Linked DNA regions of Homo sapiens: all the other regions are linked to region 5. Evidence: promoter capture Hi-C in 16 types of primary human blood cells and fetal thymus (Javierre and others, 2016). All regions are on one chromosome and are shown on one strand. Each heading gives the region's core, a stretch centred on a gene start or on the middle of the fragment in contact. The rest is flanking DNA. Distances are from core to core; before and after follow the strand shown. Region 1 overlaps LINC02818 (long intergenic non-protein coding RNA 2818). Region 2 overlaps LOC105371631 (a long non-coding RNA gene). Region 3 overlaps FAM163A (family with sequence similarity 163 member A). Region 4 overlaps RASAL2 (RAS protein activator like 2). Region 5 holds the start of TOR3A (torsin family 3 member A).

Evidence for each region. The method cuts DNA at HindIII sites, captures the fragments that hold promoters and counts their contacts. A CHiCAGO score of 5 or more calls a contact.
Region 1: a contact is called between a fragment that was not itself captured here and the fragment with the promoter of TOR3A in region 5, in 1 of 17 cell types (neutrophils). The highest score is 5.6, in neutrophils.
Region 2: a fragment that was not itself captured here is called in contact with the fragment with the promoter of TOR3A in region 5 in 3 of 17 cell types (naive B cells, erythroblasts and endothelial precursors); the score reaches 7.0 in naive B cells.
Region 3: a contact is called between a fragment that was not itself captured here and the fragment with the promoter of TOR3A in region 5, in 5 of 17 cell types (neutrophils, naive CD8 T cells, naive B cells and 2 more). The highest score is 15.1, in neutrophils.
Region 4: a fragment that was not itself captured here is called in contact with the fragment with the promoter of TOR3A in region 5 in 1 of 17 cell types (naive B cells); the score reaches 6.3 in naive B cells.

What each region holds. Positions count from the first base shown.
Region 1 is chr1:179,826,245-179,828,944 of GRCh38, forward strand. LINC02818 (long intergenic non-protein coding RNA 2818) reads right to left here. Exons shown (of 3, transcript XR_001738312.3): 2 at 2,151-2,700. Among named protein-coding and RNA genes, the nearest start is that of LINC02818, 9.0 kb to the right of the region's middle. The HindIII fragment of the contact is 981 bases long and covers 762-1,742 here.
Region 2 is chr1:178,525,787-178,528,486 of GRCh38, forward strand. LOC105371631 (a long non-coding RNA gene) reads right to left here. Exons shown (of 5, transcript XR_922310.3): 3 at 2,244-2,353; 4 at 1,433-1,515; 5 at 379-612. Among named protein-coding and RNA genes, the nearest start is that of TEX35, 14 kb to the left of the region's middle. The HindIII fragment of the contact is 365 bases long and covers 1,077-1,441 here.
Region 3 is chr1:179,805,033-179,807,732 of GRCh38, forward strand. All of the region lies in intron 1 of FAM163A (family with sequence similarity 163 member A), which reads left to right. Among named protein-coding and RNA genes, the nearest start is that of MIR12116, 2.5 kb to the left of the region's middle. The HindIII fragment of the contact is 8,201 bases long and covers 1-2,700 here.
Region 4 is chr1:178,302,759-178,305,458 of GRCh38, forward strand. The region is part of intron 3 of RASAL2 (RAS protein activator like 2); the gene reads left to right. Among named protein-coding and RNA genes, the nearest start is that of CLEC20A, 190 kb to the right of the region's middle. The HindIII fragment of the contact is 8,677 bases long and covers 1-2,700 here.
Region 5 is chr1:179,080,714-179,083,446 of GRCh38, forward strand. TOR3A (torsin family 3 member A) reads left to right here and starts at 1,357. Exons shown (of 6, transcript NM_022371.4): 1 at 1,357-1,674; 2 at 2,227-2,340. The coding sequence starts at 1,416. RefSeq lists silencers at 1,332-1,621, 1,762-1,931. The HindIII fragment of the contact is 9,470 bases long and covers 1-2,733 here.

The DNA.
Region 1 (2,700 bases), core at 2-2,501, 750 kb after region 5:
GCCTCGGGGCAGACCACTCACAGGTCCCCAGGCAGAAGCTGTTCACTGGGGTAGACCCCACAGCCTTCTCTCCAGGCCTTGCTGCACTGGGCCATCTCCTCGTGGTCCCAGGATGTCCCAGCAAGCGGAGCACTGACCACAGGAGTAGGGGTGAGGGAACAAACCAGGCATACACTCCTGGCATCGCCAGACCTTGGCCCTGAACCCCACCCAAACGGATCCATTTAAATGATCCTGAGGTCTAGGAACCCGCTGGGATTCGACAGAAATGTGAGCCCATCAGGTATTCAAAAAGGGTCTGTGCCAGTCCCCCAAATAGTTTAAAAACAACAACACTAGAAATTTTCTCTATCCACCTGGAATGAGTTTTCGGTTACAATTCTGACCCCATGCACCCTCCTCCACCCACCCAAATCCTACCTGTCCTTCAAACCTTGTCCAGGATTCTATGATTTATTCCCCTGAGGCCCCTGGAAGCAATCACTCCCTTTTCTGGATAAGCAAAACATCCTCTCTCCACCTCCCCGCGTGTTGCTGGATTGCTGGTATCTGGCATGCCCTATATTTTCCCTTGCGGACAGGTTGTTCCTTGAGGCTGGATTCCCCACTGCACTGGCCCCAGCACCCAACACAGGCCTTGCACACGCTTTACAGCCAGCCAAAGCCAGCTGAAGGAACCAGATGCACTCCTGTCTTTCATAGGCTGGAGGGTTTTTTTTTTTCTTTTCAATGTCTTTCACTGTGGTAAAATACACATATAAAGCTTATCACCTTCACCATTAAGTGGGCAGCAGTTCAGTGGTATCAAGCACATTCATAATGTGTGACCGTCACCACCATCCACTGCCGTGACTCTTCATCTTGCAAAACTGAAACTCTATACCCATAAAACAAAAGCTCCCCATTCCCTCAACCCCCAGCCCCAGGCAACCACCATTCTAACTTTCTGCCTTTATGATTTTGCCCACTCTAAGTGCCTCACATAAGTGGAATCATACGGTATTTGTCTTTTTGTGAATGGCTTATTTCACTCAGCATAACGTTCTCAAGGCTCATCTCATGTGGCAGGTCGGAATTTCCCTCCTTTTAAGGCTGAATAATATGTCATTGTATGTATGCTATACTTTACTTATCCATTCATCTGTGGATGGATAAATGGGTTGCCTCCACATTTTAGTTACTGTGAATAACACTGCTATGAACATGGGTGTAGAAATACATCATTGAGAGCCAGGCGCAGTGGCTCATGCCTGTAATCTCAGCACTTTGGGAGCCTGAGGTGGGCAGATCACCTGAAGTCAGGAGTTCGAGACCAGCCTGGCCAACATGGTGAAACCCAGTCTCTACCAACAATACAAAAATTAGCCGGGCGTGGTGGTGGGCACCTGTAATCCCAGCTACTTGTGAGGCTGAGGCAGGAGACTCGCTTGAACCCAGGAGGCGGAAATTGCAGTGAGAGGAGATTGCGCCATTGCACTCCAGCCGGGGAGACAAGAGGGAAATCCCATCTCAAAAAAAAAAAAAAAGAAAAGAAATACATTGTTGTTGAGACCATGCTTTCCATTCTTTTGGGAATTCTACTTCTGTCCCTAGAAGTAGAGTTGCTGGATCATGTGGTAATACTATTTGTAATTTTTTGAGGAACCACCATCCCCATCCCGTTTGCCACAGCAGCTGCAACATTTTGCGATCCCACCAACAGTGTCCCAGAGTTCAATTCCTCCACATCCTGTTAGGTTACAAGCTTTAAGAGGATTAAATACTGGGGCTTCATTTACACCCAAGCACATGATGATGGCAGAGGTTTAGTAAGATTGTAGTTTGAACTCCTGGGGAAAATGATTCCACAGTCCATTTGCAACAAACGGGGTAATTTGAGGACTTGGAGCTGGGGCGTCTGCTCGGACCTGTACCTCAGAGCACTCGGAGACCTGCCAGGGCTTTCCTCATCAGCTTCATGATCTGGAGCACGAAGTATTGAACAACCAAAGCCACACTCCTTTGGTAGCATCTGAGTTTTCAGTTTCTTTCTCCCTGCTTCTCTGAGCTTCTTCCCTTTTGGGAATTACACAGCAATCGGGACCAACCTAACAAAACTAGCTGGTCATTTATAGATTCTTCCAGACTGAAACTCCCCAAAGCCAACTTACCCAATATGGTGCCACCACCCTTCTTGCTTCCATGTCCAGCTGTGAAAGGTAGGATTCTAGAGCCACTGGCAGCAGTCTGGAGGTCAGGGCTGGGACTTTTTCAGGTGCAGGTTTTTCAGGAGCTGCTGACTGACCTGGGTATCCAGGTCCAGAGAGGTATCCACAGACACTGCTGTCTCCCAAAGGCAGTGGCATGAAACCAAGAGCACTGCAGCAACGTAAAGCACCCTGAGTGGCCAGGCAGGGCTGCAAGCACATGAGGCCATGGTTCTCTCCTGGAGTGGACACACTGAGGACAGTCAGCCTCTTGGTACATCAGTAGCAACTGTAGCTCTGCCCCTTGCGCAGGAGCATGGGGAACAAACACGCATCTGTCCAGCCTGAGACCAGTGTCTAGAACCATTCCCAGCCCAGCCAGTGGAGACTCCAGGGCCAATCCCTCTACTTCCAGCTGCACATCAGGCCCTGCTTCTGGGCTGTGCCTGCCCAGCGGCTCTGCTCACCCTGCCTCCTCTGCTACTGACTCCACAAAGCCCCTCAGGCCCAGCTG
Region 2 (2,700 bases), core at 9-2,508, 560 kb before region 5:
TCCATTCGTGAGGGTGCTGCCATCATGACCCAATCCCCCAACTCTAATACCATCCATCATCCCCTTGGAGGTTAGGTTTCAGCATACAAGTTCTGAGGGACATAAACTTTCAGACCATAGCATCTGCCTCCATTCTCAACATGGATGACCCCTAGGCTTTTCCCTTAATTACCTGACATTTTTCTAGGGACCTACTTCACTTCCTTCTTGGAGTTGGAGGGTAGAAATTGAGTCTGTCTCACTCAACACAGCAGCCCCAGAATTAACACACTGCTCAGTGAATGAGTATGTAGCACTCAGTATCAACCCTCAGGACCAGGAGGTCGAAACCAAATTGACACAGGGCCTCCTGAAAGAGATCAAACTGGCTCTGGAATCTAGAGTTTAGATTAATTTATTAATGGGTAAAAAGACAAATGAGCTGGAACAAAAAAAGTCCGTGTGACTCCAAAACCCAACCCCTGGTCTTGTTCTTCATGTTCAGGAACACTGACTTCACATTTCTTTCTTAACTGAGTGTTCATAATCATAACTTGATTGATGATCAAATGTCTCTCCCACCTCCTTTCTCATCAGTATTCATATGGCAGCTTGTTATTCCTCCCAGGTAAACTGGTTGAGAGGGAATATAAATTTGTTTAAGAGGTACCAATGTCAACTTTGCTCTAAAGCATCATGAACTTGGCCAGCTGCGGTGGCTCATGACTGTAATCCCAGCACTTTGGGAGGCCAAGGTGGGTGGATCACCTGAGGTCAGGAGTTTGAGACCAGCCTGACCAACATAGAGAAACCCCATCTCTACTAAAAATACAAAAATTAGCCTGGCATGGTGGTGGGCCCCTGTAATCCCAGCTACTTCGGAGGCTAAGGCAGGAGAATCACTTAATCCCGGGAGGCAGAGGTTGCAGTGAGCCGAGATTGCACCATCGCACTCCAGCCTGGGGGACAGAGTGAGACTCCATCTCAAAAAAAAAAAAAAAAGAAAGAAAAGAAGCATGAACTTGACCAGTGGCCTCAAATCACGGTCTCTGGCAGGTGACCCCAAGCCTTGGACTCAAGCCCTGACCTGTCACCCAAGCTTGGATCTACCTGTTGTTTCAGGGCCTCATCATCCTGTCAACTTCAACACAGCCAAAACCAAACTTCCCCGTGTCCCCAAACCCTTCTCTGTCTGACTTGCTGATGGGAGTCCTTGTCTTTGCTCAGTTCTCTGACAGCTAGAGCACAGGCTGATCTCCAGCCAAAGGTTGGACCTCATCCCCCCACAGGGCTTTCACCAGCCTGTCTGTTTGCCTGTCCACTTGGTGCCCTGGACTAAACATCCCTGGAGGAAACCTGGAGTGCTGTGGAGCTCAGAGCCCCCTGCCCTGAGCAGCTGGTCCCAGAGCTCCTTTGGTTATTTTGAGGATTTCTGAGAATACAGGTAAAGTACCTGTTACAAAGCTTCCTCTTTCCTCTTCGATGGCTTCCTCCATGACATATCTTTGATGGCTTCTTAGGGCCTTTTCCGAAGAGCTGAGGATGAAAAAAGAGGATGTGAGTCCCTTAAGGGCAGAGACTGTGTAGAATTCATTGATTATGCCCTGCCCCTGCCACTTGATGGCTGCGTGGCTGTGGAGAGCATGCCCTTTTTCTGCCCTTGGTACCACGTTAGTCATTAAAGCTTCACATCTTCTCCATCTCCCATAGCAAATGAGCACCTGGGTCCCATGGCCTTTAACCATTTCAAATGTTTATTCCTGAATTCTCCCCTCTCCCATACACACTCTAATCCAAGCTCTTAGTGTCTGGATCCTGAGCTATGTCCAGTAGCTTCTGACCCAGTCCTCTTGACTCCAGGAGTTTCTTCTCACAGCCTGGAATCCATTGTCCACGCCACTTCCAGAGATTTCCTCCCGAACTACTACTTTACTCTGCAACTCACCGTCTTGCTCAAAAACCATCCCCAGGGCTGATTACTGGTGGGATAACAGACACACTCTTTAACCTGCCGTTCAAGGCCTTGCATTTCCCATATTATTTTTCACCTTTTCTCCCCCGTTCCTATCTGTAAACCCTACACTCTAGGGTCCCAAATGTGCCCTTCACATTCCCATATCCTTGCCTTCACTCCCCTTCTTCTCTGAGCTCCAGGAATCTCCCATCATCCCCGCTGCACTGCCCTCTGCTCTAACAGCTCCTCATTGACCCAAGGAATAGGTCACTCGGCCGTGTAGAGGTGTTTCCCATCTTACTGTTCCAACCTGCATATGTCTTTCCTCTCCATGCAGATTGTCAGTTTCTAGAGGCAGAGCTTATGCTGTCTTCATCTTCATCCTCAGCATGGTGGTCAGAACCCTGCACTTGGCAGGGGCTGAGGAAAAATTTTTTGGTTGAACTTTTGCTGCCTAGCCTGACAGATTCACATGTTGGCCCTTCTGACCCACTCCTGCCCTCTTGGCTCTGTGGCCTTGGGACTGTGGACATCCCCGAGGGTCCTGGGGTGCCAACAGGGGTCTCCTGTCACATGGAGCCCTCCGGGACTGTGCAGGTTTGGGGGCGATCCCAAGAAAATTCTCCATACTATCCAGTGTCCATCCCAGATCATATCTGGAAATATACATACATCACCATGGTGCCAGGCTGGCAGACGGGATGAGCAAGGCTGCCTCCCAGCCTACGTAGGTGCCAGTTTTAAGAACAGAAGCAAAGTCATCAGGG
Region 3 (2,700 bases), core at 182-2,681, 720 kb after region 5:
GATTTATGCTCAAAAAGCAACTTTAATTTTTTTTCTTCAAATGTCCCTTTACTTTAAAATGTATTCAGTGGGAGAAATCTTCCCCTGCCCCTAGAAAAAAAACTTGGCCCAATCCCATTGCTTTTTCATCCAGTCTTCGGTGATAGCCTTATAGTTACTGTAAGTTATAGATACAGTCCACTCAGACATTAGAATGCATCATAGGCCGGGCATGCTGGCTCACGCCTGTAATCCTAGTACTTTGGGAGGCTGAGGCAGGTGGGTCACCTGAGGTCAGGAGTTTGAGACCAGCCTGGACAACATGGTGAAACCCCATTTCTACTAAAAATACAAAAATTAGCCGGGGGTGGTGGCGGGCGCCTATAATCTGAGCTACTTGAGAGGCTGAGGCATCCTGCCTTAAAGCCAGCATTAATCGCTTTAACCTGGTGGGGCGGAGGTTGCAGTGAGCCGAGATTGTGCCACTTCACTCCAGCCTGCGCAACAGAGCAAAACTCCCAAAACTCCGTCTCAAAAAAAAAAAAAGGAATGCATAATAATCATGAGTAATGAAACGCTCTTACTCTGACCGCATTGTTTTTCTCCTTTCTTCCAGTTTCTCTCTGCTCAAGCTGGAAGCACCTGAGGTGGGCCCCCACACGTCCCTCTGCTGTCTACACCGCCCTGTTCTCTCTTCCCTACCACCCGCCCAGGAGCTGCTGTTTTACCACTGGCCGGGATCGAAATTCGGGGTTCTTACTGGTTAGAGAGCTTAGAGAAACTTAAAACTGGCTCCTGCTTTTGGAAATGTTTTTGTGGGCTCTCCTGGGGTTCCCTGCTGGGCTGGACCCCTCTCTTCCGAAGTTCCCTTCACCCACTCAAGCACTGCATCTCTCTTCCAGGAGTCTTTTGCAACCCCTTGCTCAGCCTCTGGGCATCTGGAGGCCGCCTGCAGCCTCTTCAGTTCAGGTCTTCTCCCTGTTGACACTTACACAATATTGACTCAAGACAGCCAGCCCCAGAGCTCTCCTCCCTTGGGATACATAGCTCAGCAACACCTCTCACCATGGAAATCTCCTCAGCAAACCTTCACCAAGTTATGGTCCTATATGTATTTTATAAAGTGGGTGAAAGCATCCACGGATCCTGAGACAGATGCTTTTACATTCCCATTGTACAGTCTGTGCACAGCCAGGGGCAGAGGGCCCTGCCCCAGGCTCACTTTCACCTTCTGATTTCTATCCTTTGCCCTGTCAGAACTCGTGCAGCAAGAGCCCCACTGTGATACCCAGTCGCATTAAACTCTACATCACAGGTTAATGTGAATGAGAACATCTTGGAGAAAAGAAAGCCTAAGTGCCCAGAATGTCCAAGGCAGGAGCTGGGAGAGTGTAGGAAGGCCTAGATCTAGGAGAGAGGTGATACGGGGACAGGGCTGTTCTGTCACGCAGTCACTCTGCCTCCTTCTCAGCTTTCCCCAGGGCTCTGCCCCTGAGAGCTGCTGGGCTCAGACAGCCCCAGTCCGTGAGGCATCATGCTAATGTCTGTCCTTTGACCTCCAGTTTCTGGCCGAGGGTGAGAACCTGGAGGTGGTTAGCCCTGTCCCCTTGGGAAGGTGGCTCTGTGGATGTGGTTAATGGCTGGGTTTCCTCCCCAATACAAACATCCCCCACCCAGGGGGGGCCTTTCCTCTGAGCCAGGGCTGAGCATCACCCCTACAGGGCATCCCTCCTCTCCCTCCTTCTCTCAGTGTAGGGTCCAGACTCTTCCGAATAATGTTGAGTGGTTATTTAAAGATCAACACTGTCCTGGCCGGGCATAGTGGTTCAAGCCTGTAATCCCAGCACTTTGGGAGGCCAAGGCAGGAGGGTCACTTAGGGTCAAGAGTTTGAGACCAGCCTGGCCAATGTGGTGAAACTCTATCTCTACTAAAAACACAAAATAGCTGGGCACGGTGGCATGTGCCTGTAGTACCAGCTACTTGGGAGGCTGAGGCGGGAGAATAGCTTGAACCCGGGAGGCCGAGGTTGCAGTGGCACTCCACCCTGAGTGACAGAGCAAGACTGTGTCTCAGAAAAAAAAAAAAAGAAAGGTCAACACTGTCCTGGGTTAGACTGATTGGTTAAATGAATAAACAAATGAAACAATGTAAAGAGACCCCCAAAAATTAGCCTACCCTGGATTCCTGGATGTCTCGGGAGGGCCCTGCCTCCCCCTCCACCATCAGCGCAGCAGCCTGAACTTGCTCATCTGGCTGTCCAGTCACCATCTTTGGCCTGATAGAAGTCAGGATATTGGAGTAGGGGAAGGAAGTGTGCAGCCCGGGCACTGGGAAAAATAGGCCCGGGAAACCGTGGGAAAGGGGCTGGGAAAGAGGTATGTTAAGAGCAGGGTCAGTCATGCAGGCAACAAGGACACATCCACTGAGCACAGATCCAGATCCTCCAGTGGAGCAGGAGAAAGCCAGCCGAGCGCCCTGCCCCACTCGCCGTCACCTCCCAGACATGTGCCCAGCATCCTGCCGCTGCCCTGGGCACAGGCTTCCAGCAGCAGCACAGAGGGAAGGAGACAAAGCTGGGATAGGTGTAACCTTACAGGTCTGTCCTCAGGTTCTTAGGCTGGGGCCTCGGAAACCAAGGCAGCTGTGGAGGTTTACCTCAAGAAGCAAACCCCTGGAGAGACTTCCACTCTAGAAGCTGGGGTCACAACTGGGGGCCAGCA
Region 4 (2,700 bases), core at 145-2,644, 780 kb before region 5:
AGGCCGGGCGCAGTGGTTCACGCCTATAATCCCAGCACTTTGGGAGGCCAAGGTGGGAAGATCACGAGGTCAGGAGTTCAAGACCAGCCTGGTCAATATGGTGAAACCCTGTCTCGAGTGTGGTGGCATGTGCCTGTAGTCCCAGTTACTCAGGAGGCTGAGGCAGGAGAATCGCTTGAACCCAGGAGGTGGAGGTTGCAGTGAGCCAAGATTGAGCCACTGCACTCCAGCCTGGGAGACAGAGCGACACTCCATCTCAAAAAAAAACAAAGTATAATAGTGTGTTGGTGGAAGAATAAACAAATAGAATAGTGAAATAGAATAGAGAGTCTTGAAGTTATCCCATATATAAGGACATTTGGTGTGACATTTCCCTCACGGCAGTGAGAGAAAAGACAGTCTTTTTAGTCATTGGTGCTGGCTCAATAACATATCTTTTTGGAGTGGGGTGGGAATGAGGAGGAATTGACCTATAAGATAGTGACCTTATAACCATGCACAATATCAATTCCAAGATCTGAACAAGAGAGATAATACAATAAAACTTCTAGAAATAGTGTAGGATATTTTCATGATCTTGGATAAAGAAAGATTTCTTAAGTCAGGAGTGTCCAATCTTTTCGCTTTCCTGGGCCACATCAGAAGAAGAATTGTCTTGGACCACACCCAAAATGCACTAACACTAACGACAGCTGATGAGCTTAAAAAAAAAAAAGGTTCATGCAAAAATCTCATAATGTTTTAAGAAAGTTTAAGAATTTGTGTTGGGCTGCATTCAGAACCATCCTGGGCTGCATGCAGCCCATGGACCGTGGGTTGGACAAGTTTGTCTTAAACAATACAAAAAACACAAATTGTAATGGAAATAATTGATACATTGGACTATATTAAGATTAAGAATTCTGTCAATCAGTACATCATTAAGAGAATGAAAAGGCAAACCACAGAGTAGAATAATATATTTGCAACACCTATAATGAACAAAGGGCTTTTATCTAGTATATATAAATGCTTCCTCGTAGAAAATGAGCAAGAGGCTTGAACAGATATTTTAACGAAGAGTTCACTGAGGAACAGACACAAATTAGTACATCCTGTCTGATTCCGTTTATATCAAGTTCCAAAACCGTTAAAACTAATCTATGGTGTTAGTTATTAGGATGGTGGTTACTTTTGGGGAGGAGGCATGAATAGTGATTGGGAGAAATATAAAGGTGGATTCTGGAGTGCCAGTGGTGTTCTGTTTGTTGACTTGGGTAGGAATTACACAGGTGTGTTCACTTTGTGATAATTCATTGAGCATATGTGTGTTATACTTAAAGAAAATTTTAAAAAGACAAAGAAAAACAAGCTAAATTGTACTGTCACATAAGTGGTCTATACTATTACAAAGTACACAGTAGGGAGGATTAAGAACTATATAGCCAACTCTGTTTTATGCTACCAAAAGGGCCACTAGGATGAGGACTAACGAAAATCATTAGGCCAGGTGTGATGGCTCACACCTATAATCCCAGCACTTTGGGAGGCTGAAGCTGGAGGGTCACTTATGTCTAGGAGTATGAGACCAGCCTAGACAACATAGTGAGACCCTTATCTCTACAAAATAAAAAAATTAGCCAGGCATGGTGGCACACATCTGTAGTCTCAGCTACTCTGAAGGCTAAAGTGGGAGGATCTCTTGAGCCTGGGAGGTTGAGGCTACCGTGAGCTGAGATCACACCACTGCACTCTAGCTTAGGCGACAGAGTGAGACCTTGTCTCAAAAACAAAACAAAACAAAAACCACACATTAGATTAAGTGACATTAGGGTTCTTGGTAAGTTTAGGAACTGTAGTTTTAATGGTATGTGGCAGCAGAAGCCCTACTGAAATGAGTTGAGAAGATAGTGTGATAAGGAAATCAAAACAGCAAATGGAGACAATTCTTCTTAAACGTTTGCCTGTGGAAAAACTGAAAGCGTTTCCTCTTAGATCTGGAACACAACAAGGTTGTGCACTTTTACCACTCTTATTTGTTATAGTACTGGAAGTCCTAGCTAGAGCAGTCAGACAAGAGAAGGAAATAAAGGGCATCCAAATTAGAAAGGAAGAAGCCAACTTATTCTTGTTTGCAGATGATACGATCTTATATTTGGAGAAACCTAAAGACTCCACTAAAAAACTGTTAGGACTGATAAACAAATTCAGTAAAGTTACAGGATACCAAATCAGCATACAAAAATCAGTGGCATTTCTGTATGTTAACAGTGAACAATCTGAAAAAAAGAAATTTAAAAAGTAATCCCATTTACAAGAGCCACAAGTAAAATGAAGTACCTAGGAATTAACCAAAGAAGTGAGTATCGCTACAATGAAAACTATAAAATACTGATGAAAGAAATTGAAGAGGATGGCAACAAATGGAAAGATATTTCATGTTCATGGGTTGGAAGAATCAATATTGTTATAATGTCCATACTGCACAAAGCAGTCGACAAATCCAGTGCAATTCCTATCAAAATACCAATGACATTCTTCACAGAAATAGAAAAAACAATACTAAAATTTATATGGAATCACAAAAGACCCTGAATAGCCAAAGTCATTCTGAGCAAAAGGAACAAAACTAGAGGAATCACATTACCTGAGTTCAAATTACAGTACAGAGGTATAGTAACCAAAATAGCACGGCACAGGCAGAAAAACAGACACACAGAC
Region 5 (2,733 bases), core at 107-2,606:
TTTTTTTTGGTTTTCCAATAAGCACTGTGGTGTATGTGCTGTTAACTGTCTCCGGTGGACTCCGCAAGCTCGATGTACACAGTGCTGGGCTGGTGCCATGGCTGCTACTCTATGAAAAGTTTTTGACATCACACTGAATGGCTGAGACACTATAAACATTTTACTTTTCAACTCAACCTCGTGTCCTAGCAAAGGTGCTTTATCTAGTTTCTGTAGCTGTTCGAATGAAAGGCACAAATTTGGTGAGCTGCTGAGAATGGAGCAGACCTGGCACGGTGTGATCTAAGAGACTGGGGTGAACAGATGAATCAAGTTGCCTGTGACATTTGTGAGACACGGTGCTAGTATTCACCTTACTGTCTGGAGGGCCCAACCTCAAAGCCACTAAACATATGACATTAGCCAAGTCCTCTGATCTCTCTAGACAGCAGTTTTCTCCTAAGACAAGACGGCTTTTTGGCTTGGCTGAAGTAAGCCAGGTGATTTTAAACAATGCATTAAGCTCTTCTGAAATCTAACAGCCTTGTTCCATGCTCCTCGCTATGGAGAAGAGAGCGCTGAGGGAAAGAGGCCCTGTAGTCTTTTGCCAATGGTGTCGGATGGGCTGCTCAGTCCCAGCACTTGAAAGTTGCAAACCTAGTCAAGAAAGTGCACACAGTACTTCGGATTTTTATGAGATATAATTACATTGACATGACGCCTCATGATTTACCCATGACTCGGGGGGTTTCCAAACTCCAAACACCTCCAGACTGGAGCCCGTCAATCAGCTTCCTCTTGCTTTTCGTGGACTCCCACTGTGGAAACCTGCTGGTGTTTTGCTGCGGTTTCATTTCCCTCTGCGGAGGAGCCAGGGCAACCTTGGCCAGACAGGCACCTAGCTGTGCCCTTCTTTCCAGGGCCTCTTCTCCACTCAGCTGACTCCCCTGGCCTGCCTAACGCTCCTGACTGAGACGGTTTTCCGGCTTCCTCTAACAGGTTGGCGGGAAGTTGATCTGCAAACGCGAGGCAAAGCAGGAGTGTCCTTATTCGGTAGGCCTCTGATGGGCCACCAGAGCCGTCCGAAAGTCCTAGCGGAGTGATTGACAGTGGCCATTTCAAAGCCTGAGTTCACCTTCTTTGCAACCACAATCACGACCCAGAATAAACTGCTTCCTGGAAGCCGGCTAGTTGCACCTGGCCTGAAGTCAGTCTCGGGACTGCCTCTCAGGACCCCAGACAGGGTTTCGGGTTCCCGCCTGGGTCACGTGTACGGAGGCTGCCAGTGCGCACTCAGCCCGGCCCGCCGGTCGCCACAGCAACACCAATCCCGGGTTCAAGCCCGCCTAGGAAGTGCGGTCCCCGCCTGACCGCCCCGGGCTTAAGGGAGCCTGGCTAGGCCGGCAGCCGGATGGTCCCGCAGCTCGGGGCCGGCCATGCTTCGCGGTCCGTGGCGCCAGCTTTGGCTCTTTTTCCTGCTGCTGCTCCCGGGCGCGCCTGAGCCCCGCGGCGCCTCCAGGCCGTGGGAGGGAACCGACGAGCCGGGCTCGGCCTGGGCCTGGCCGGGCTTCCAGCGCCTGCAGGAGCAGCTCAGGGCGGCGGGTGCCCTCTCCAAGCGGTACTGGACGCTCTTCAGCTGCCAGGTGTGGCCCGACGACTGTGACGAGGACGAGGAGGCAGCCACGGGGCCCCTGGGTAAGACCCCGTCCCCACGGTCCGCCGTTCGCTGCGGAGCAGAGTGCGATCCGGGCGCGGCTGTGGTCGCCTCGCTCCTGTCCGGGGCGACATCTGGGCCCGCAGTCCTGCTCTGCTCAGCCGCCGGTACCGGCTGTGGGCGGGGGCAGCCTCCGCGGAGCAGGGAGCCCCATCACCGCCCTTGCCCCACCCGCGTCCCCTGCGCACCCCCCTGGCGCCCGGCTTCCCGTCCCCCGCCTCCCCTGATCCCTGCGCTTTCCAGATTCTCTCGCACCGCCTGTGCCATCTCCCAGCCCACCCTGGCGTTATTCGAAGGTGTTGCTCTTGACAGCTCTAGGGAACGTCCGCTGTGGACATGCCTGGTGACTGCCGTCTCCCTTGCTGCTTTTGGACGCAGGGCTTGAGGACCGACAGTGGGCCGAGTCGGGGCTGGGAGTTAGAATCTGAGTTCTGGGTGTCCCTCTGTCCCTGACAAGTTGTGTGGCAAGGTTGCCGCATCACTGTAGAGCACCGGATGGTCTCCTCTCGGTCTCACAGCTCCTCCTTTTCCAGGCTGGCGCCTTCCTCTGTTGGGCCAGCGGTACCTGGACCTCCTGACCACGTGGTACTGCAGCTTCAAAGACTGCTGCCCTAGAGGGGATTGCAGAATCTCCAACAACTTTACAGGTTGGACCCCGCATGGCTTCAAGGGGCTAGGGATCTGTGGGGAGGGGAGGCAGTCCAGGGGAAATGGTTAGATGCAAGGGACCTTTCGTCATCCTGCCCAGCCTCCCGACAAGCAGGAACTGCCACAGTCTGACTGAAGTTTTGAGGGAGTACCAAATGCTTGAGTCAGGGAAGCCCCTTTTTAGCCTCTAGCTTAATAGCCCAGGCAAACTGAGCTGTTTGTCAGGCCCAGAGCACCTTGTTTCACTCTAAACAGAAACAGCTACCTCTCAGAGGGGGCTGGAACTATCCAGAGAGAACTGATCAGAAATTCTGGGTTGTGATTAAAAGTGTCCCTTTCTTTTCTTTTTTTTTTTTGAGACGGAGGCTTGCTCTGTCACCCACACTGGAGTG